Linked DNA regions of Homo sapiens: regions 1, 2, 3, 4, 6 and 7 are each linked to region 5. The links are contacts of gene promoters, found by promoter capture Hi-C in blood cells and fetal thymus (Javierre and others, 2016). All regions are on one chromosome and are shown on one strand. Each heading gives the region's core, a stretch centred on a gene start or on the middle of the fragment in contact. The rest is flanking DNA. Distances are from core to core; before and after follow the strand shown.

Region 1 (3,461 bases), core at 600-3,099, 400 kb after region 5:
TGAAGCTGGAAACCATCATTCTGAGCAAACTATCACAAGGACAGAAAACCAAACACCGCATGTTCTCACTTATAGGTGAGAACTGAGCAATGAAAACACTTGGACACAGGGCGGGGAACGTCACACACCAGGGCCTGTCATGGGGTGGGGGTACTGGGGAGGGATAGCATTAGGAGAAATACCTAATGTAAATGACGAGTTAATGGGTGCAGCACAGCAACATGGCACATGTATACATATGTAACAAACCTACATGTTGTGCACGTGTACCCTAGAACTTAAAGTATAATAATAAATAAATAAATATAAATAAATAAATAAAAGTTTTTATGGAAACAGAAGGAAATTAAATAGCCAAACAATTTTGGAAAACAAATATAAAAGATGACTAAATTTACAGAAATCAGAAAAGGTAGTGCTAAATGTTTTTTTAAAAAGATATATGGATCAATAAAATAGAATAGCAAACTCAAATATAGAATCATACAGACGTGGTTAATAGATTTTCAATATAGATGACAAGGTAATTAAATGGGAGAAAGAAAGTCTTTTCAACAATTAATGCTGGAATAACTGAATAACTATATGGAAACAGTTGAAATTCGACCCTCACTTGACACCACACACAAATAAAACTCAATGTGGCTCATCAGGCTAACTGTGACATTTCTAGCAAAAAAAAAAAATGAGAAATCTTTGTAAGCTTGAAGAAGGCAAACTTTTCTAGACTGGACACAAAAAACATGAACTATAAACAAATGGTATATGCGAATATATTGGACCTTATTAAGATTAAAAACTTCTACTCTTCACTAAAAAATGTTAAGAAGTGAAGGAACAAGCCACAGGTTGGGTAATCCATAATCTGGCAAAGAATATATCTGCAGAAAATATAAATAACTCTTAAACTTAAAAATAAGAACATGCGCACACACACATACACACACGCAATTTAAAATGTCCAAAAGGTTTAAACAGACACTTTCTAAAAGAAGATATACCAATGACCAATAAGCACATGAAAAGATGCTATATTGTTAAGGCAGACTACACAGACTCAAAAGAATGGCTAAATTTTAAAAGACAATACCAAGTGATGAAGAGGAAACAGAGCAACAGGAATTCTCATACACTGCTGGTAGGAATACAAAATAGTACAATTACTTTGGAAAAGAGTTTGACAGTTTTTTCAAAGGGTTAAAATACATACCTACTATATAATCTGGAGATTCCACTCCTACATATTTGTTTAACAGAAATGGAAACATATGTTCACAAAGATTTTACTTGAATGTTCATAAGCAGCTTTATTCTCACAGTTTCCAAAACCTGGAAACCAGCAAAATTTCTAACCTCAGGTAAATGGTTAAAATAGAATGTGGTATACACATACAATGGAATATAACACTGCAGCAGAAAAAGATAGACTATTGATGCAGTAACATCACAGATGAATCTCAAAAATATGCTGAGCAAAAGAAAAACACAAAAGATTTCATTAAAAATTCATTTATATGAAATTTTTAAAAAGGCTAAACTATTTTATTGTGAAAAGTAAATAATTTGTTGCCTGGGCCCAGGGATGGAGGAATTGACTGGAAGTAACATACGGGTACTTTTGAGGGAGTGATGAAAGTATTCTATGTCTTAATTTGGTGGTACATAAGAGTTATACATTTTTTTAAACTCATTATATTGTATACTTAAGATGCGTGCATTTTATTATATGTAAGTTATGCTTAAACAAAATTTTAAGGGGAAAAAAGGAAAAACTTGGGGGCCATTCTCAAACTTAACAATTTGACCAAACAGGCTATGTTCTTTAAAACTTAATCCCCTCTTCTCAGTTTGAAATGATTCCCAGAAAACTCCTACTCTTTCCTCACATGTCCGTGATATTTGCCCTTTGAACTTATTCTCTTAAGAAGACACTCTACTTCTAACCTGGGATGTTCTTGTTACCATCACCACCCAACCTGCAGATCCTTCTGGGAAATAGGATATAGATTTCTAAACTATGTCCTCACTACTAACTAACTAAAACGGGTATACCGATATTCTTTGTTTTACCACTTTTACTAGATTTAACTGTGGAGAAAAAGTCATAGATGATGACCATAACCAAGAATGGAGAAAACTACTTACTTGCCCAATACTTCACAAGGGCATAAAATATGCTAACCATTCTAAGGTTTATGTCAATCTATGGGAAATGCTAAATATTTGGCTTTGGAATCAGTCTACAAAACTGAGAGTGCCCTGGATGTTAGGATGAGTTAGTGGATCTTTCTATCTCTCCTCAGAATTTATTTCTTATTCTAAAAGCCAAGACTCCACCTTTTTCTGTTAATATCTTCCTAGTTCTCATGGAAATAATAATAATGAACAAGCAAATGATTGAGTGAATGAATGACATTCCCATGGTTCTTCTAAATAGTCACTTTAATGAGAACATTCTAAGAGCAGGCTCTTACAATAGGCTAACAGGTACCACACGTATTTCTGATTTTGAACTTAAGTTGCTCACCCATACCTAGTCTATTGATCATCTTTTACAGAGAAGTAGAAAACATATTCATTTACAGATGTTCTTCACAGTTGAAAGTTCTCTTGCTTATTACCTTCAAATGTGTGAAATAATGGATGGTGACAGCAGTTCTTTCTTTGCAGAGCATTCAAAGAGATAACCTACTCTATGGTTGGCAGCCATGGCAGGTGTCTACATGGCCCATCAGAGGAAATGATAATTTCACAGTTTATACAGTGTGTTAATAGGTTTGGTTGTGAAAACAAACCACCCTAAAATCTCAATACTGTGGTTTGCAACAATAGATGCATTTTTGACTCACAAGTCTGAGAGTTGCTGTTAACTCTGCTCAGCTCTGCTCCAAGTATCTTTTTATGCTGGGACCCAGGCTAGGCAGATGAAGAATTCTATCTGCTAAAACATGGCTTATATTATGTCCATGTACATCCCCTAATAAAGTCATATGTCCAAGCTTACCAATGGCACTGTAGGTGTATTCTCTCTAGTGGATTGCACTAGTAGTCAGATGGCAAAAGGAGTGGATGTACACCTCTTGGGAAAGGAGCAGACAATTGGGAACAATAATAATTTCCACCACATGTGGTTAACTAAACTAAAAATAATCACCATGCAGAAAAAGGCCATGCTGTCCCTTGCCACTTCTCAAGTCATCTACAACTTAAGAATATAGAAAAAGCAATCATTACTCCCTTGAAATATCTGCATAGCGCCTAATATTGAGTACAAAAATGCAGGCTAAATAGATATGAAAAGAGATATGGCAGTTTCTGGAAAAAGACCTTGAGGTTGTGGCTTGTCTGCCATTCACCAGATGCACAAATCAATTACACAGCAAGCATTAAAGCCTGGAAGACAAAAAAAAAAAAAAAAATCTGATTGAATCAGGAGGGAAGCTAAATACTCTTTCATTCAT
Region 2 (3,446 bases), core at 703-3,202, 350 kb after region 5:
GATGGTCTTGATCTCCTGACCTCATGATCTGCCCGCCTCGGCCTCCCAGAAGTACTGGGATTACAGATGTGAGCCACTGCACTCGGCCTAAAAAAATCACTTTTAAAATTTCAATATTATTTATCTTCTTTCACATTCTGGAATAAATTGGCATTTTACTTTAGGACAGATCTCAGGAAGCTCATGAGTAAAAACTTATTTCACAATAATACTAAGATATTTATGTTAGCATGCAATGTATTCATCATGGCTATATTTAAATAAATCCATAAATGTTTAAAACTTGTTTAAATTCTGAATATGATAAATATTGATATGTATAGCTCACAGAAGCAAAAGCTCTCTGAGTTCCTCAATAGGTTCCAAAAGCCTGAGAATTGTTACCTTAAAACGAAAGTATTCTTTTTTTCTTCCAAAATACATACACAGTTCATTTTGGGTCATCATCGCTCCAAGGGTAGTTTCTGTTACTCGTGTTAATTTTAACATTTAATAAACTCTCACAGAGAAAACGAGGGTAGCCAAGTGTCTGTCATACATAAGTATTTTAGCCAATTAGCAAAGCTCATGGACACACAGAATATGTCTTTCAACAGCCACACAAATACATTTTATACTTTTTTTTTCTTTTCTTTTTTTTTTTTTTTTTTGGAGCCAGGGTCTTGCTCTGTCACCCAAGCTGGAGTGCAGTGGTAACGTGGCTCAATCATGGCTCACGGTAGCCTCGACCTCTTGGGCTCAAGCAATCCTTCCATCTCAGCCTCCTAAGTAGCTAGGACCACATGCATGCACCACCAAGCACAACTAATTTTTTAATTTTTGTAGAGATGGGGTCTACCTATGTTGCCCAGGCTCATCTCAAATTCCTGGACTCAAATGATCCTCCTGTCTTAGCCTCCAAAGTTCTGGGATTATAGACATGAGCCACCTCACCCAGTTTACACTTTCTTAATTAGACAAAAATGAATACGTCCATTAACAGGGACAAAGATCAATCCAATTTAATCAATTTAATGCAATCCACTCAGTCCATGAGCTTGGAAATTGTATTGTCTTCCAGCTGGCATATTATAACACAATTACTGTTCAAACAAAACTTTGTTAGAATAATTAAATATATACAAATGTGTCCTTTTTACAATATTAAACATTATATAATAGTAATGTTAGCTTATTTGATCAGTAAACTTGGTTAAGTTTAAGAAAAACAAACCCAAATAGAATAAAATGCATGCTTATATATTAGCATTGATAAAAAGGAGAAGACTGCTGTTGCTAGTAAACTAAAATTATAGATCTAGTTTCATTTACCAAAGATTTACCTTTGTTATAGAAATTGGAGTTCTTAAAGCATTTCCAAGTTAACTCACGTAAGAATGTTTTAATTCAAGCACATTTAAAGTATTAGAAGTTTATTTTTTATTTTTCTAGACATTTTAGTAATATTCATTTTTATGTATTTTTAATCTACTCAGAATACAGCTCCTATAACTTTAGAGGCTTTGCAGTCTAATTAAGTATCATCTAAAGATAGGAAGTTTTTTTTTTTTTTTTTTTTTGAAACAGAGTCTTGCTCTGTCGCTCAGGCTGGAGTGCAGTGGCAAAATCTCAGCTCACTGCAAGCTCTGCCTCCTGGGTTCATGCCATTCTCCTGCCTCAGCCTCCCGAGTAGCTGGGACTACAGGCACCCGCCACCGCCCCTGGCTAATTTTTTGTATTTTTAGTAGAGACGGGGTTTCACCGTGTTAGCCAGGAAGGTCTCGATCTCCTGATCTCGTGATCCGCCTGCCTCAGCCTCCCAAAATGCTGGGATTACAGGCATGAGCCACCACGCCCAGCCAAGAAGATAGTTTACAGTTAAAGTTTTTTCTGAATTATAGAAGCATAAACATACAGAGTCACCAAGAGTGTATAGTTTCAGATTTAAAACTTTAGCCACAGGTCAACTGTAAACAGAGAAACACAAAAATCTCAGTCCAGATATCAAATAGCTGCACTCCTTTCTAGTGAGCACAAAATTCTTAAGTATTCTAAGCACAAAAATAAACAAGTTAACAAACAAGCAAAAACATTAGTAAACGAGTTTACCTCTTGTCTCTTACCCAACAGAGAATATATCTCTATCTACCATCTACAGAGACCACAAATAATCAGACCATAAAAACAAATTCCCAATTATCACTACCACCAGTGCATAACTCATTGGCCATGCACAAACCAGAAACAAAAACAAAACACGAGATCATTAGAAAGGAAAAAGAATTACAGAAACAGAGGTTAAGTAAATGTATAGTTCTATTGCGGATTGTGATTCACTTCTGGGAGTCAAGAAGAGAGGTGTCTGGGCTTAGGCTGCCTATGAGGTGCACCTCTCCAGCAATGTGGCTTACCAGGCTATGTCACATGAATTTTGGGCATCTTGGTGGAAACTTCAAAACTATTAAAGGGTAATTTTTAAAAGAGGACATAATCATCACTCTCATACAAATATCAAGTGAACAGATGCTCAGAGAGCAGAGTCAAGAGTCTTGATGACATTTGTGTACCAGGTTTTCATTATTCCTGGTCCCAGATAAATTTCTGTTCTTGGGGTCTGTGAGTCACTGTGTATCTTGACAACTTCTTCTTTTTTTTTTTTTTAACATAGTTTGAGTCAGGTTTCAGTTACTTCATTTAGGAAGCATTTTTACCGGGGCCACAATGCAGCGCTACTCTAGGAGGTGCTGTCCAATACAGCAGCCATCAGCCACACGTAGCTATTTAAACTTAAATTACTAAAAATTAAATAATATTTAAAATTTGGTCACACTAGTCATATTCCAAATGCTCAATAGCCACATGGAGCTGGTGGCTACTATGTTAGATACCACAGACCCACAGGGACTTTCTCGTCCCCAAGCCATATTGTAAAGCAGAGTCTACAGCAAATAGTTGCTGAGTTTACATCTCAGTTCAGTAGACTGAGCAAGAAGCATTCTAAGAAACTTAGAACAAACTGTGATCAAAAGATGGTTACTTTAGTAATAATGTAAAAGAGAGTTTCTATATAAAAGTGGATGCAAACAAAATCATATGTCAAGTACAACCAAGATTTTTATTAGATCAAAACCAGGAAGATTTAGTGTCTGTGAGGTTGCTGTTTAAATTATTTTCTTACATTGCAATGGAAAGAAATAGATTGTATGAACCAAGTTTCTAGTATAAGAAATTGTTACGGGTTGAATTGTGTCCCCCAAAAAAGTATGTTGAAGTCCTAACCTCCAGCATCTCAGGAAGTGACCTTATTTGGGAATAGTGTCATTGCAGACGTCATTAGTTAAGATGAGATCTTGCTGGAGTAGAGTGGGCCTTTAATCCAATATAAATACTGTATTTAAGAGAAGAGACACAGAGAAAACATAGGGAGAAAATGGCCCTATGATGGTGGAGGCAGAGAATGATTGGAA
Region 3 (3,337 bases), core at 404-2,903, 390 kb after region 5:
GGGCAACAGAGCGACACTTCATCTCAAAAAACCAAAACAAACAAAATGATCTATCCTACACAGGATATGGCCCTATCTGCCTATTCTGTAATGAACTGTCCCAGACAATGAAGCCTGAGACAAGCCCATAGCTAGGTTTTATACTAACATATGGCATGACTCCTAAGTCTATTCTTGCCACAAATTGGTTATATATCATTGTCAGTTTATTAAAACTCATCTCAAAACACATGTATAAAATTTAAGTAGTAAAATTACACATAGATCCTAGACTTCCTTAACAATCTCAATGTGTGAAACACATTTGCCTTCATCCATGGCGTTTGATGCTTTTTTCTTCTGAACACGCATGGTCAGGACATTGGGGCAGACTTATCTGAGAGTCAGATTTCCTGAACATTAAAGGACACTGAAGAATCTCAGATGTGTTGAGGTTTATATTTTTCTACTTTTCCCGACTGGGTTCTGAGAAGCTAGCCGCTGAGTTGGAGCCATATTGAGGAAAACAGATCAGAGAAGAGAATTGGAAAGCCACTATAACACTGGGAAAAGGCAAAGTAACCCTTTTCAATATTGTCACCTTTTCCCTTGTCTTTGATCAGAGTTCTTTCCTTCTATCCCTGAGTTTTCCATTTGGTTTCTATGCCCCCCATCCACCAAAACCCACACCTAGTGCATCTTATATATAGTCTTGTCATATTGTTTGTCTTTTCAACTTCAACAAATTGGACAGAGGATGGTTTTTAAATGTTTCCATTTACAGATTCCAGTTTTCACCTTTACTATTTTGAAATATGCCAAGCACTTCATCCGTGTCATCTTCATTAGAATTAGTGATCATTACTATTCATAAAAATATTGTAATATGAAACAAATAAATGTCATCTGCAAGAAATAATATCCTAATTTGCTGAAAATTCCCTACCTTCAAAAACCGCAATTAATTTTGCACCAACCTAATAAATCAAATTCAAAAAACTTTTTTGGAAACATTACTCCCAGTGAAAACATTCACATGTTAACAATTTGCTTTCTTCTTTGGATCTCCCTTCTTACCCTTCCTTATATTGTCTTACGCTTAATTTTCATAGGTCATTATTTCGTTAAAGCAAAAAAATAAGGGATTAAAAATAAATTCATCTTTGCCTGGTACCTACAAGGAAATGCCCTAAATGTCATTAATAAGAAACTTCTTTCCGTGTCACTTTTTTTTTCCTCAGGTTTTTTCTATTGCATGAACATTATTTGATGGGGTAAGTGTAAAATAATTACAGCAACACATATGTTGCACGTAGTCCCCAAAATACGAAGCAGCAAATTTGTGCTTTTTCATAAGTAGAGAAATAGAAATAAAATAACCTAAAATAGTGTTTCCAAAATGTAAGCCCTAGATCAGTAGCAACAATACCACTAGGAACTTGTTAATAATGCAAATTATTAAGGATCTATCTCATAGATAGATCCTTAATATTCAGTATCTATCTCATAGATAGATCCTTAATATTCAGTATCTTAATATTCAGTATCTCATAGATACTGAATCAGAAATTCAGAAGTGCAGCCCAGCAGTCTGAAGTTTAAACAAGTTCTCCAGGTGATTTTCATGTACCCTAAAGTTTGAGGATCACTGACATAAAGGTGGATTTTTCTAACTAGGATAAATGAATTGTCTCTACCTGTGTCCATACCTGAAGATCTTTAAGGAGCCCTGCTTCATGACCAACGACAAAGTAACAAACTTGTTACACAAGAAGCCCAGAGTTAACTGTGGAAGTTGCCTGTTAGTATTGAGAAGATTGAAATGGGCCTGGGTATGTAGCTTATAGAGGAAAAATGAAGACTTTATCATAAAAAAATAAAAATGCAAAGACTGGTGAATCTATGCAAGTCACAATGTAACTATTTTAACACTATTATATGTTCATAACTATTAGAAATGAAACAAAAATTCATTTAAGTAAACTAAAAGAATGTCACCTGAGGATGTGTGGTAGGCAGAATTCTGGCCCCTGTAATCTTTGTCCTTAGTTACTCCCAGGAATATTTTAAATTGCATGGCAAAGGGGACTTTGAAGATATAATTAAAGTAACTCATCAGCTGACTTTGAAATAGGAAAGATTATCCAGGTGGACCTAATCTAACCACATGAGCACTTAGAATCAGAGGTTTTTCTCTGGCTGGTAGCAGAAGGAGAAGTAAGGTTCAAAGCATAAGAAGGATTAGACCTCCTATTTTGGGCTTAAAAATTAAGGGGGCCATGTGTGAGGGAAATACAGACTCTAATATAAAACTGGATTCTGGAAACTACCAGTGAGTTTGGAAGCAGATTCTTCCCCAGACCCTCTAGATAAGAAGCATTCACCCTCACTTACACCTTGATTTCAGCCTTTGTAAAGTGCTGATCTGAGAGGACCTAGCTGAGCCATGCTGTACTCGGACTCTGATTCATGGACTGTAAGATAATGAATGGGTATTGTTTTAAGCTGCCAAATTTGTGGTAATTTGTTACAGCAGCAACAGTAAACAAATACTAGGTGTTAATTTTAACTGCTGTTACAGTCATCCCACTTTGAAAAGAGCCTGCTGCCTTTGCCAGCAAAAGAACCAACTGGCAATTTAAGATTCACAACACAAGGTCTTCACCAGCTTTTGTAACATTTAGAATATCTGGATGATCCTTTTGGCTTCTACAAACAAGCACTCCTTCAGCACATTTGTCTTGAGGGCACACTCACTTTTCTTGTAGACAAGACAGCAAGATCTAATATTTACATAACCTCTGGAAACTAAAAAGAAGTACCTGTCTCTTTCTTTTGTGCTCCTGCTTCAGAAGGATCTTTCTATGTACAGGAAACTTAGCTCACATGGTGCAGGGAAAAGCCAAAAGATAGCTCCACTGCCACAGCTTGGCAGACTTTAATACGTGACATATTGTCAGACCTCAGCACTTACAGGAAAACGGAGTCTTTCAAATGTGAGTTCAGTCCAGCAGTTTTTCATTTTGCAGACAAAGATTATAGATTTAACTCTTTTTATGTAAGGGAAGTATGAAAGGGACTCATAAGTTTATGAACATGATCCACATAGTAGAGTCCCCAGTTTCTTAGAGAAGTCATGCTGACAAGGAGACCTGGAGCAAAGGGGACACGTGGTATATTAGTTTTTCAGCACGGCTGTAATGAAGTACTGTAGACTGGATGGCTTCGACAACAGAAATTTATTTCTCACAGTTCTAGAGCCTAGAAATTTACGCTCAAACTGTCATCAGGGTTGGCTTCTTCTGAAGGCCCCTCTCCTTGGCTTGTAGACGGCAGTCTTCTGGTGTCTTCACCTGGT
Region 4 (3,432 bases), core at 348-2,847, 370 kb after region 5:
AATAAAATACTTAGGCAATAAAATGAGAAAAAATATGAGAAACTATACTGGGAAAAAACTATCAAGGCATTGTTTTAATATCACTTCATGCTTGAATATATTTAAATACCACAAACTTGTTATGATTTAAAGGAACTCAAAAGACTATTGTTTTCGTTCTCTTGATATTTCAGTGAAGCCTGCAAAATGTATATGTGGGGAAGTGCGAGTAGATGTGTGATTTAATTTTTGTGCTTTATTTGGGTGAAACTGGAGTATGAAGAAACATAAGAGACACCCTCAGAGCACAATCAAGATGTCAGCATTCACAAACCCATGTGCTCCCCCTCTAAATTATACTCCTCCAGATGGCTTGGTTAATTTTGAAGTGGATAAAGCTAACAGTGCCAGATCACACCCAAGCAGTATAAAACTGTATAAGAACACAATAAAACAGTAATAAACAATAGACTATTTTAGTGGCATATGGCAGATACTGAGTCAGGCCAGCCTCAAATGTAATCTTTGGATTCTGTTTAAAAATCAGTGTCTGAATTATAGCATTAGCATTCAAAGCACTCCTGTAAGCAGTAAGCAACTATTCTAAAGAAGAGAAAGGAAGGGTCAGATAAAGGAGAAAAGGAAAACACAATGGTCACTGGAGAAGAAAGATAAACAAGAAATAATAAGCAGTGCTTGCATGACAATCTACAAGGGGAAATATAGAATTCATGAAAGCATTCAACAGGAAGAGATGGCAACAAGTAGACCAATATGAAGGAAATGGGTATGGGAACTCCCAGCAAGAAGGGGAGCAAAGGAGAAAGAGGAAAATACACACAAACAAAATAACAATTCCTCCCTTCTCTGAATATCTGGACATAAAATTTATTGTCTTCCATTAAAATGACAAAAATTGTATGTTGCATCATCAAAGTTGGAAATATATTGTTAAAACCTTAACTCTGCAATCCCTAAGTAAAAATTCCCTCTTCTGAACATGTCTTCACCCCTACACTAAACCCAACCATCTTCTCCTGGGAGAGGGATGTTTCAGAACAATGAGAGATCTGTTCAAATTGCTGAAATTAAAGCTTCCAAGTGAAGAGCCCAAGATATAGCCCCCTTTTATCTACTTATATCCTATTTATAGTACGCATTTCAATGTAAACAAGACTTCCTCCATACCAAGTAGAGATTGTACACCTAGACACTAAATAAAAAAGTATTTTTTCCAGAAAAATACTTTTCAAGTGAGAATTTTGTTAATGGATAGTTTCTTGATAACATGAGTGATCTGAATAAAGTTAGTTATCCACATAATTAACTATATATGGCTGAATAGGAAGTCCCAGCCTTCATTCCCACACAGAAACATGAATTGCTCACAAATGTACACACTAAACATTTTTATATGAATTCCAGACTTCAATTAAGATGTTGCAGTATTCCAAGTGTGCACAAAGTACAGAATAGTCAAATTGAATTGAGTTAAGAAGAGCAATTTCATTTACCTGCATCAGCCTCTCCCCCAAGTTAGCACAGCTCAGTGCCAAGACAGAATGCCTCTTCACATCTTTTTCCTCTGGGAGAAAAGAATAGAGCATGCCTCCAACATTCCAGCTTTTCAGAGAGCTGCCCAAGAAACAGGTCTCTTACTTCCTTGATTGGTGTGCCCACAGAACTAGCATAATTTGAATGTCTGGGGGTCACTGAGGACAATGGAAAGCAGCAGGTGGCTTGATATGGTTGGCACAGCATGGCACAATTGGGGGAGGAAGTGCACAAGTTAAGACTTCTTCCTTGGCAAGGAGGGAGAAGAGTGGAGCATGTGTTGGCATTCTGGCTCTTCAGAGGGCTGCCCAAGGGACTAGTCTCTGTCTTGCCTCACTTGGAGCACTCATGGAACTAGCATAGTTTCGATGCCTTGGAGCCACTGAGAGCAAAAGTTAAAAAAAAAGGCAGTAGGCAGTTTGCTATAGCTACCATACCTCAGTAAAATCAAGAGAAGATGCACAACTCAAGGCTTCTCCTTCAAGAGGGAAGGAGAAAGGAGCGAGAAATGAGTCTGTCATTCTAGCTTCTTGGAACACCAGCTTCTGAGAAACTGATATCTGTCTCACCTTACTCAGTGTACTGATAGGAAGCTTGCATGCCCTGGATATTTGCCAGCCACTGACAACAAAAGAGAGTGGGAAACTTGCAGCTGTAGAACCAGATAACTTGTGGTGGCACAGACAGACATCAGAAAAGATAATGAGTTCCTGAGGGGAAACAAAAAACACAGTAAGCCTCTCTGAGAAATTGCATGCACAGGCCCAGATACCCCAAAAAGTTTCAGAGGATTCCAGAATCTCTTTATGGGCTACTTAGTGGGAGTCTTATCTAAACAAAGCCAGTCTGAAGACTGGGAGAAGTGACAGATCCTAATACAAAGCCACAAGGTGCATGAAAAAACAAGGAAACATGGCTCAATCAAAGGAATAAACTAAATCTCCAGAAACTGGATCTACAAAGAGGTATGTGGACAACTTGAAAGAGAATTCAAAATAATTGTCATAAAGATGCCCACTGAGCTCAAAGAAATAACAAACGAACAGAATAAAGTATTAAGAAAGATACAGAAAATATAAAAAAGAAGTTTTGGAGCTGAAAAAGAAAATAAACTGCAAAACTCACTAGAGAAGTTTAATGGCAGACTTGATATTCAGAAGAAAACATCAGCAAACTTGAATATGAGTCATGTGAAATTATCTGCTAGAGGCTCAAAATGAAAAAAGAATGACAAAGAATAAAGAAAACCTAAGGGACATACAAGGCACCATCAAATGGACCAATATTTGCATTATTGTTGTTTCAGAAGGGGAAGAGAGAGAGAATGGGGCAGAAACATTACTTAATAAAATAATGGCTGAAAACTTCCCAAATGTAAGGATGGAAATGGACATCTAGATTTGAGAAACTCTGCACGCTCCAACTAAGATGAATTCAAAGAAATACACACCAAGCAACATCATAATCAAATTGTCAAAAGTCAAAGAAAAACAATTTTGAAAGCACCAGGAGAAAAGCAACTTGTTATGAACAAGAGACTAACACCAGATTTCTCAGAAGAAACCTTCCAAGACAGAAGAGAAGTGGGATGATATATCAAAACACTGACAGAAAAAAAACCTGCCAGTCACGAATACTGTATCCAGAAAAACTATCCTTTAGTAATTAAGGAAAAATACTCTCCCAGATAAAGAAAAGCTGAGGGAATTCATCATCAGTAGACCGCCTTACAAGAAGTTCTAAAGGGAGTTTATCAAGTTGAAATGAATGGATGCTAAACAGCAGCATGAAAGCATACATAAATACAAAGCTCACTGGTAAAGGTAAATACATAAAAACATAAAGAATACTATTGCTGTGATCTGAATGTTTGTGTGCATTCAAAGTTGATTTGTTGTC
Region 5 (3,255 bases), core at 641-3,140:
TGCCTATGAATCTTTTGGCATCATATATTGTGTTTTGAGGATTTGAATCTGCCAGCTCTACGCTTTCATATCCCACATATACATCATTGTCAGTAAAAGACACCATGCTGGGTATGCTGATATGCCCATTTTCATCTGGAATCACCTTTACTTTTCCTGTGCCAGGAAAAAACACCCCAACAGAACAATAGGTGGTGCCAAGATCAATACCAATCACTTTAGGAGTAGGCAATGGTAAATACTGTTGTGCCAAATAGCCGGCCAACAGGAGAGTCAAAACAGCCGATCCTGAAATAAAGGAAAATTAAAAGATGTATTTTATCAAACTAGTACAATGTACTAAATTACTGTAGCAAAGTCCCTTTAATATCACTCGTTGAAACAAGGCTAAAAAAGACAAATTTCAAAATTTTTTATAGGACTGCTGATAGCACTCCTCTCAGACAGCAAGTTTTTCAAAATGTAAACTGGTTATAATAAAATTTAAAATGAAGTAAACACAAACAACAAAAAACCCTATAACTGTATGTTTGTGTCATTCTCTAATAAATGTAATAAAATGTAAAAATATTTCAATAATATTTGTGCAGATGCTGACAAGAAACAACATTTATCTGGAGCAAAAGCCAGATATAATCTAATATTCTTGATCAATTGATATTTAGATTTTACAGCTTTATAAAAAGCTTCGATTATCTTTTTTTAAAAGCTCCATTATTAAAATTCTCACAAGAAAAACTTTATTATTTTATAAGTCTAAAATTCTCTCCTCGTATCTCACCTCCTTTTCCCTTTCAAAAGGATGAAATGAATAAATGGGATAAAATGATTTTGAAAGTTCCTTAGATATGAAACTGTCACTTCAAAACAGAACACAGTTAACTTTTTATGTATTTAAGTATGAACTAGGGACTTCCTTCTTGCAGTGGTAATATTTAGGGGAGAAGAAGCATAAAGGTGGGCAACCCTGACGGCAACATCTATGAAAGCTTCTTGAAGACAAGTTTCGTTCACTGTTGTATCCCCCAGACCAGGAATAGCAGATGCCCAACAAATACTAATTTAAAAAAAAAAGAAAAAAGAGTAGGAACAAATGCCACGCAGATTGTAAACATAAGCGAAGAAAGATGCCCCTTTAGTTTTTAATGAATCTCGTATTTGGTATCAGGAGGCTGTGTTATACACCTGTGTCCGCTCATATTACATATGACCCAAAACATGAATTTTCAGGGCTCTGTGTTACTAATTGTTAGCTCATCCTCATCAACACATAACTCAAAGAAATAAAACCAAGTGCGAATCCCACTTTCCACTTCCAGCTACAGGCAACATTTCAGAAGCATTTCATCACCTTGGAGACGCGGGGTGGGTGTGTGTGTGGGTGGGGGATAGGTAATTCCAAACCCGATGTGATGGAAAAAGCCTCCAAATTCAGCATCCCTGAGCCGACAGATCCGGATGTAGCTCCTCCCCCTTCCTCCACAAAGGGGTCCTGGAGGTGCACGTTCTCGCAGCCTTCCATAGCTTGCCCCAATTCAACAGGCAATTCAAAAACCTAGGTGCTGTTGAAAGGAACGCCTCCCTAAGCCTGATGTCCCTGGGATGGACACAGCTGGTCGCCGTCTATCCTACCTTGGCCTGCAGGGGCCGGGGCCCTCCTAGAGGCGTCCCCGCCCCCATCCACTCCGAACAGCCGAAAACCGTCTCTAAGTCACCTTTCTGACTCCCCTTCCGCTGCTCCAGCTAGATCCAGGAGGTGAGTCAACCACCCCTGCCCACTCTGGCATCCTCAGATCGCCTCTACGCCCGCAAGAGCAACAAGGACCCCCGGGAACCCACCTAAGATCGTCATCTCTCTGGCCATCACAGTCCCGCCGAACAGGCTTGTGATGACTGTACCAGACGTGAGGCACCGCCCCCACTCCTCCCGGCAGTCCCGCAGCCCCCTGGGAAATGTAGTCCGCTTGCTCTGAGGCAATCGGAGAAGCTATCGCTCTGACCAAAGCAAGGACTTCATCTACCGTGAGGGCGCGGGGCAAAGAGCCTCCATTCAACCGCTGCCAGTGACGACTGAGTCCCCCTTCCACGCAACGGCCGGCAGGACCAGTGAGACTGAGGGGGAGGAGCGCCGTGGCGAGAGACTGGCGTTTATAATCAAACCTGTGGTCCCGCGATCCTACTTGAGGGAAAACAGGCTATCTCTTTAGCCCCGCCCCGCGCTTTGCATTCTGGGAAGCGGAGTTCCAGCCTTTCTCTTTCCGCGGGAGGGAATGAAAGGGAGGGTGAGAACCGTTAGTTATTTCTTTCTTTGGTCGTGCCCCTAATCAGGTCCAGGATTCGAGTTTGTGTTCTTTCGTTTTAATTCCTTTTAAAGCGCGTTCGTTTGCCTGAGATCTAGCTTCTAGATGGCGTTCCTATAGCCTCCCGGAGCCCCAGCCATCCTCCGTAGAAGGGTCCCTGCCGCAGTGCGGGGCCTGAGGGAAGTCGGCTCTGGCGTCCGTGCTCCAACGCTGGGAGCAGCCCTGAAACTCCAGTGACCCTCAGCCGTCTGCCTTTGTTTTGGGATAAATGAATTCAAGCATTCTTCAGTCAATTCGATTTATCCAAGGGATCAGGGACACATTTTCTCTATTGCTAGCACTGACGTGGGCCATTAAAAACAAAAACAAAAACGAAATTAAAAAGAAAACCCTTAGCTCTCTCTTCAAGTAAGTCTTAAGTGGCCAAAATTGACCTTATGGGCAAGTCCTGTAACGTGACAGCCATTTTAGGACGCTTGTGACATGCTGTTCAGGTTCTAGTCTGAAGTAGGATTTTTCTCGCATCTTGGTCACTGGTAGCACTTAATGACTCCTCTGAGAGTGGTTTTGTCATTTTTGCTGTTAGAGTTCACGATAACTAAGATCCTGGAGAATTGAATCCATTTTCTCAGCTTAGATATAAATCAAACCATCCCTGTTGACAACACGTCAGCCTGCTGTGGGAATACATTGCTGGTTATTTCTGACTTATCAATGTGAATTTTGATTATGGAAGCTGAATTCTGGTTGATAGGGATCCATTGTAATGTTCTCTCTACTTTTGCGCATTTTTAAGTATTTCATAATGCGAAATATAAAAAGTGTGTGTCTATAGTGAGTGCTGTTCAATAAGATTCTTATAAGGAGTGAAGAATTCAAGCACTTAGTTCTTAAGTATTACTTGTAATGGGCAGTGGGCTGGAGGTGTTCCAGGCAGACGGAACTCAATTACCAA
Region 6 (3,586 bases), core at 226-2,725, 320 kb after region 5:
AGACTACTAACTATTTCTACTTTATGAACATGACAAGTAATTATTTATTAAAGTAGTGAAAATAATTCTGTCAAGAACAATTCATTCTCACTTTGCCCAAGCTGAATGAATATAGATAAGTCTATGGCGGTCCCCTGCATCCTTACACCTGAATACTTCCTGAAAATATTTTCTCTCTTCTTCGTTAGGGAAAAAAATATTCAATGGACACTTTTTAAAAATGGTAAAGCCGATTTTATTCAGAGGGAGACTGTTTTGATAGGTGTAGGGCTCATTGGAATGGGCCTTTGCAATGGGGGGAGAGATTTGGCTCAACTCTAAATATAACAAGAAAAAGTGGGAATTTATAGCCAAAGATTAAGATGGAGGCCAGTACATAGAAAATTACTGAAAGAAAACATAAGGGTAAAGAGGAAGTTCTGGCTAAACCAACCACACAGGATCCTTCCTGAAGACAGGCTAGGATGTTCAGACACCACCTTGGGGAGGGTGAAGGATAAAGAATTTGATCAGAAATCAAGGGTGGTGAGATACATGTTAAGGATGAATAAACTGGCCTTTTAGGATTCTTGCTAAAGTTAGACAATGCAGAGGCAACCACAGAGTCCAAGAGTTAAGGCCTAGTTGAAAAAGAGTTGAGAGAAGCTTGAGTAATGTTTGAACGAGGAGATAATCTCTGTTATTTCTCCCTCTCCATTGTCATAGTCTGAGTTGTAATATAGACTATTACAATAGTCTCCTCATTGGTCACTCAGACTCTGGTTATAGTCTTTCTTCACTCATCACACTGTCGAAAATATACATCTAACTATGTCATACTCTATTCAGAATTATTCAATGTCTCTCACATTGTCCCCACAATGATACACAGGCTCCTCCTTAGGAAGCCATGCAAGGGTTTGCTTGGTGAGGTCATTGCCTTCTTGCTCAGTCTCATAGTCCCTTCCTAGTCTTTCTCCAGAAATAAGTTACTTTATAAGCTCTACTATGCCTTGATTCTTTTGTCTAGGATATTCTCAAACTTTCCTGCCTTTAAATACTACTCATTCATTAAGTTTCAATTCAAACATTGCTTCTGTGAAGTTATTCTTAGTGTACTCCAGAAAAGTTAAATTATCTTCCTACATTTCTGTTGGACTTTACATATCCCTTTACTATAGCATATATTTTTGTAACTGTCAATGAACTAGACTTTCAATATTCTGAGGGCAACAAAAAATGTTTTCCCCTTAATTCCAATTTTCTGGCAAAAGGGAGAATATAAAAGTTCAATAAATATTACAGATTGACTGAATAAAATGCATTTAGGTAATAATTCATTTGGATGAAGATAATAGATTCTTAGAGATTGGGAAATGGGAATTGAAATACCAAATTTCTATCTACAAATATGTATTCAACAAGTATATACAGTGGCACATAGAGAACTCTACACTTGATGCTGGATAGGACATATAAATTCATTCAACACGTACTTATTTAGCGTTTACTTCACATCAGCACTATTCTGGGTATTTCAGAAACATTGCTGAAAGATATAATTTCTATCCTAAATGACTGCATGGAATTGAACTCAAGACTTCGTTTGTCATAATCTGGCCAACTCTCTCTTAATTCAAATTATCTGAATTCAAATTAAGAATATAAGAGAGGACTCTTTCAATTCATTTACCTTTTAGCAGCATAGTATAATGCTTCTCAAACTTCAGTGTGCATATGGATGCAGATTCTGATTTAGAGGCCCTCAAGTGATGCCCATGCTACTGGTCTATAAGCCACAATTTTATTACCAAGGGTTTAAGGTTCAATAACAAAGCCGACCCTTCCTAGGAATGAACCTCCCTTACATTACCAAAGCTCCAGAGTGTACTTATTAAGTCCCTCTGATCCATGGGTCAGGGTGGGGTAAACATGGAGTAAAGCTAAATATGTGGGGTGCTATGCCAGGAAAATCTAGAGACAATACTTTCTAAGAAATTTGTGTGGTTTATCTGCCTCTAAATGGAGGCAAGGAAATAAAGAAGAAGAGGTCCTTGGATGATATTGGAAGTTGTTTCAAAAAGTTGCAGTAGCAACTCTCAGGAAGTAAAAGCTGGCCACAACCTGGCCTAAGTGATGGAGAAACGAGGATCTCTAGTGAAAAACTTACTTTGAATAGATATATCCTTGCCCAGCTTCTGTAGGACAAAGCTGTATGTAGATTCCTTTGCATTTTTCACAATACTTAGGATAGTGTTCCACATAGAGGCTACATATATGTGGAATTAATGAATGAATGAATTGTCTTTATTTTACAAGATAATTGGAAGCTTTCAGGATATAAGTGAATTGTCTGACCTATTAATTATGGAAGAATGTTTACACTTTTGTTGAAATGCTATTGTTAAGCATTGAGTTACACCGGCTTGTGTAGTATAAAAAGATTTAAGAAAAGTACACATCAAATAAGCTGCCTTTTCACTGCCTGGGAAAGCTGTCATATAAGCATTGTGGTTTTCATGTTCTGTGGTGGTTGTCTGCCACAGTCCAGCAGAAGTTTAACAGTAAATAATGTTAAGCATGTGAACTGGTCGGGGGGGTGGCATTTGCATTTATATCTCATATGGTTTGTTGCCCAAGCAGAATTGAGTGGCTACATTTTTCTATTTTTTGATGTCTTATTTTGTTAATCATTCCAAACACATTTGTTCCGTTCCATAAAAATGAGCAGCTTACCTTCTACCTTTGTGAAATTACTGTTAATCATTCTCTAATGTCTGCATTATCCCATTTAAACCGTTCCCCTGTGGTTTTACAATTCCTTCTGCTCACTAATCCAACAGGAGGAATGATGTGCAAACAAGCAAATATAGAGAAACAAATAGGTTTTCTTGTGAATCGTCCTTATAAGCCTCATCAGCGACATTAGAGTTTCTCAAAATGTTATTTAAGAATCAAATAAATCTATAGATAAAGCATTCAAGCCAGTGGGCTTGAAATTAATCCAGGTGATGATATAAGCTCAATATAAAATAGAGGATGCTTTTATATCCATGAATCATCCCCGCTTCCTGCACCTAGCCTTAATCTTGACTGATAGAACCACATTCTTAAAACTTGACTATAGTGAAATAATAGTCAGCAACATGTGAGGCATATAATGGAAAGGGAAAATGCATATAATTTCCTAAGACTTACATCCCCATTGCTAGCCAAACTTACATCAAATGATAAAGGCCTGGGTATCTCCATGTGTATTAGTCTGTTCACTGCTAATAAAGACATACCCAAGACTGGGTAAGTTATAAAGGAAAGGGCTTTCCTCCACATGGCTGAGGAGGCCTCACAGTCATGTCAGAAATCAGAGGAAAAGCAAGACACATCATACATGGCAGCAGGCAAGAGAGAGCTTGTTCAGGGGAACTCCCATTTATAAACCATCAGATCTCATGAGACTTATTCACTACCATGAGAATGGTATGGGGTAATCCGGTAATCCACCCCTATGATTCAATTGTCTCTACCTGGCCCCATCCTTGACACGTGGGGATTATTAAAATTCAAGGTGAGATTTGGGTGGGGACAGAGCCAAACCATATCACTATGT
Region 7 (3,058 bases), core at 68-2,567, 490 kb after region 5:
CCAACCTGCTTACTCCTTAGGACTAGGAAACAAGAAAATCACTGCTAACCCCACTCCAAACTTGCCTGATTTCAGAGCTCAGTATCATTCTGCAGTTTGCAGTCACACTGGGAGGGTCTTTTTCTCGTATATGAGAAGGAGGACAGAATGTTGGAAGGGAACGCTCCTCGACAGATGGGAATGAGAGTGGTGTGAGTAACTAACTGGAGGCAATAAAGGTGTTAGCAAACAGCAGGAGGGAAGAGTGGGCCCCACCGATCACTGGCTGTCCCGCATGCTGTGTGTTGTACCAGTGCCAGTGGGAGCTGCCTATCCAAGCCTTGGTATTAACAGCATGTGACTCTGGCAGATTCACAATGTCCTCATTGGCTTTGTCAGTATGACAAGCTTTGACTGAGTCCCTATCCAACTGAGGGGCCACCATCCCCGTCACCCTCCTTTCTGATGCCTTTTCTCCTGATCATCCCTTCTTCTTCCTTCTTCTTTGTCTGGCTTCTTTTGTTCTTCCTTTTTCTGTCCCTCACTCCTCCTTACATTATATTCCCAGCTTCCTTTGGGATTTTTGTTTTAACATAAGGAGAACCTTACCATCGATGTCAAGCTCAGCATGATATAACCAATTACCCTAAAACCACAGCCATCTAGCCTTATCTTGTATTAAAAAAAAAAAAAAGAAAAAAAAACAGATGTTGCCTATAATTGTATATCTGCTCAGGTTTAAACATAAATTGCAGTGAGAATTCTTAAGGCAAGAATACCATTGAACCAAAATACGTTATAACAGAAAGGGGTCTCAGATGCTTATTACCTCCTCCCAACTGTATTTCATTTTACAACAAAGCAAATCACAGCTTGGAAAAGTTAAATGAGTTCCTAAGGTTCCACAATAAATAAGGGCGAAGGGGCCACTACTTAGGACCCAGATCTCCTGATCCCTATCTAGTGATTTTTTTTACTTCATGAATTTTAATGTAAAAAAAGAAAAAGAAGCCACAGATCCTCTAGACCCTTATGCAATATAGGGAAATATTCCTTAACCCCAATCGTGCTTTAATCCTTCTTCTACTGAAACAAATACAGCTAATGAATTAGAGATGCTCTTTTGTTCTCCTGTTAACTATCTGACCTTAAGGAAGTCACTCAACCAATTGGTTCTCAGTATTCTCTTTCCACACTGAGGGAAGTGGACAGATAATCTATGGTTGCTTCCAGCTCCAAAATTCAGTGACCCTTTAAGCTTAACTTCTTTCACCAGAATACCTGTCATTTCTAGGTAAATAGTGTTCTCAGTCCTTTCTGTTAAAAGAGGTTAAGTAAATAAAAAGGAAAGATCAGGCTATGCTTTTGGCCTAGATTATAACTTTGTGACCAAGGATGAAGGAATTTAATAGCAATAAGAAAGCTTCCAGGGTCTACCATTTACAATTTAAATACTTTACTTGGGAGGTTAAAAGTTCAAAGTTGAGTCACAGTCTGAGGTGGCTCTGCTCTTCCTTTTTAATTATCTGAGGTCAGGAAGTTAATAATACGAGAAATCCCCAGCGGAGACCTCTTGTGCACTGTGTGAACTTTAAACTTGCTCATTTTTTTCTTAAGGGTAAAAAGTTCAGCAGAAACACAGTGGACTTTTCCTCTTAGCCTCCACCCATTCATCCCCCAAGGTCAAAAGTTGAACTGTAAAACAGAAACCCTTGTTCTCTGATCCACATTTAAACAGATCACTTATTAAAAGGTAAACATTCCACATGCAAGCCAAAGTTCCAAGTGAATCTGCTCAATAAAAATAAAAAAACTGTAATAAAGTCTTTGATCTTTTCCACTTGTCTTAGAATTGAACAACAGAATTTATTTTCTCGTTTTTTGAATCTCAGAGAAGGGGCAGTCATATAAGCTCTTTCCTCACCTACCTCTGCCCTGAGATTGGCATATCTAAAAGAGATAAACCTAAGATATTTTAAAATAGTCAGATTTGGAGCCTTACCTTAAGGCAATTTCTTCAACTAATTCTACGCCATTTATGTTTGTTTATTTGTTTTGCTCAAACAGGAATTCAAGAACAGCAAATGTGATTTAAATCAGAGATATAAAGTACTACAGAATAAAAAGGAGTTTGCTGAAAATGGTAGAGGATGCTGTATTAGTCCGTTTTGCTGCTGATAAAGACATATCTGAGACTGGGCAATTTACAAAAGAAAGAGGTTTAGTGGACTTACAGTTCCACTTGGCTGGGGAAGCCTCACAATCATGGTGGAAGGTGATAGGCATGTCTCATATGGATGGCACAGGCAAAAAAAAAAAAATGCTTGGGCAGGGAAACTTCCTCTTATAAAACCATCGGATCTCGTGAGACTTATTTACTATCATGAGAACAGCATGGGAAAGACCTCCCACCAGGTCCCCCCGACCCACCACAACACGTGGGAATTTAATATGAGATTTGGGTGGGGACAAAACCAAACCATATCAGATGCAGAGAAAATAAAGAAATGGATGAATATATCCAATGAACCTCATATGAATAATGAATGGAAAATATCTGAGATCTTCACAGTGTTAAAGCTCAAACAAGAAGTGAAATAAATAGCTACAGAGCTCCAAATAAGTATTTAATGATAGTGACAAGACTCACTTTCTTGAAGTAATGATGGCAAACTTTAAAAGTATGGAAAAGCCATTGACCGAATACTAACCCAATCCAATCAGCATGCTTAGGAAAACTCCCTGAGATGATCACATGAAGCTGTTATTTCATGCAACCCATGTGTCCGTTTTTTTCAATGTGTACTTATTGGAAATGCTTTCACTTGTTTAAACAAGTCCTACCTGTGACTCAATATTTGTTTAAAAACTTTTTAAGAAAGCATCTTTGTCACCGTTTATCTATCTAAATGCGAATAATACCACTTGCTTCCCACCTTAATAATTTTTGTAAAGATTCTCATTAGAGAATACTTAAGCACAGAAAACGGTAAGAGCCTTGAAATTAAGATATACAATGAACACGTTTATAATAAATACTTTTCACTGATGTCAGTTTCGACAGTGTCATTTAAGTTTA

What was found. Contacts are between HindIII fragments. The CHiCAGO score rates a contact against its expected background, and 5 or more counts as called.
Region 1: a contact is called between a fragment that was not itself captured here and the fragment with the promoter of HSPA13 in region 5, in 1 of 17 cell types (activated CD4 T cells). The highest score is 5.6, in activated CD4 T cells.
Region 2: a fragment that was not itself captured here is called in contact with the fragment with the promoter of HSPA13 in region 5 in 1 of 17 cell types (neutrophils); the score reaches 5.5 in neutrophils.
Region 3: a contact is called between a fragment that was not itself captured here and the fragment with the promoter of HSPA13 in region 5, in 11 of 17 cell types (total B cells, activated CD4 T cells, total CD8 T cells and 8 more). The highest score is 8.0, in total B cells.
Region 4: a fragment that was not itself captured here is called in contact with the fragment with the promoter of HSPA13 in region 5 in 11 of 17 cell types (activated CD4 T cells, total CD8 T cells, non-activated CD4 T cells and 8 more); the score reaches 11.0 in activated CD4 T cells.
Region 6: a contact is called between a fragment that was not itself captured here and the fragment with the promoter of HSPA13 in region 5, in 1 of 17 cell types (neutrophils). The highest score is 7.1, in neutrophils.
Region 7: a contact is called between a fragment that was not itself captured here and the fragment with the promoter of HSPA13 in region 5, in 1 of 17 cell types (total B cells). The highest score is 6.1, in total B cells.

The regions. Positions count from the first base shown.
Region 1 is chr21:14,784,774-14,788,234 of GRCh38, forward strand. No RefSeq gene overlaps it. Among named protein-coding and RNA genes, the nearest start is that of ASMER1, 130 kb to the right of the region's middle. The HindIII fragment of the contact is 2,296 bases long and covers 702-2,997 here.
Region 2 is chr21:14,731,743-14,735,188 of GRCh38, forward strand. No RefSeq gene overlaps it. Among named protein-coding and RNA genes, the nearest start is that of SAMSN1-AS1, 150 kb to the left of the region's middle. The HindIII fragment of the contact is 4,170 bases long and covers 1-3,446 here.
Region 3 is chr21:14,768,924-14,772,260 of GRCh38, forward strand. No RefSeq gene overlaps it. Among named protein-coding and RNA genes, the nearest start is that of ASMER1, 150 kb to the right of the region's middle. The HindIII fragment of the contact is 7,813 bases long and covers 1-3,337 here.
Region 4 is chr21:14,751,831-14,755,262 of GRCh38, forward strand. No RefSeq gene overlaps it. Among named protein-coding and RNA genes, the nearest start is that of ASMER1, 170 kb to the right of the region's middle. The HindIII fragment of the contact is 1,053 bases long and covers 1,072-2,124 here.
Region 5 is chr21:14,381,256-14,384,510 of GRCh38, forward strand. It overlaps HSPA13 (heat shock protein family A (Hsp70) member 13), which reads right to left and starts at 1,891. Exons shown (of 5, transcript NM_006948.5): 1 at 1,840-1,891; 2 at 1-288. The coding sequence starts at 1,864. It overlaps LOC105369304 (a long non-coding RNA gene), which reads left to right and starts at 1,511. Exons shown (of 2, transcript XR_007067924.1): 1 at 1,511-3,255. RefSeq lists enhancers at 1,598-1,907, 2,298-2,427. The HindIII fragment of the contact is 7,322 bases long and covers 988-3,255 here.
Region 6 is chr21:14,704,406-14,707,991 of GRCh38, forward strand. No RefSeq gene overlaps it. Among named protein-coding and RNA genes, the nearest start is that of SAMSN1-AS1, 120 kb to the left of the region's middle. The HindIII fragment of the contact is 1,664 bases long and covers 644-2,307 here.
Region 7 is chr21:14,876,400-14,879,457 of GRCh38, forward strand. The region is part of intron 1 of ASMER1 (adipocyte associated metabolic related lncRNA 1); the gene reads right to left. Among named protein-coding and RNA genes, the nearest start is that of ASMER1, 41 kb to the right of the region's middle. RefSeq lists an enhancer at 1,651-1,720. The HindIII fragment of the contact is 165 bases long and covers 1,236-1,400 here.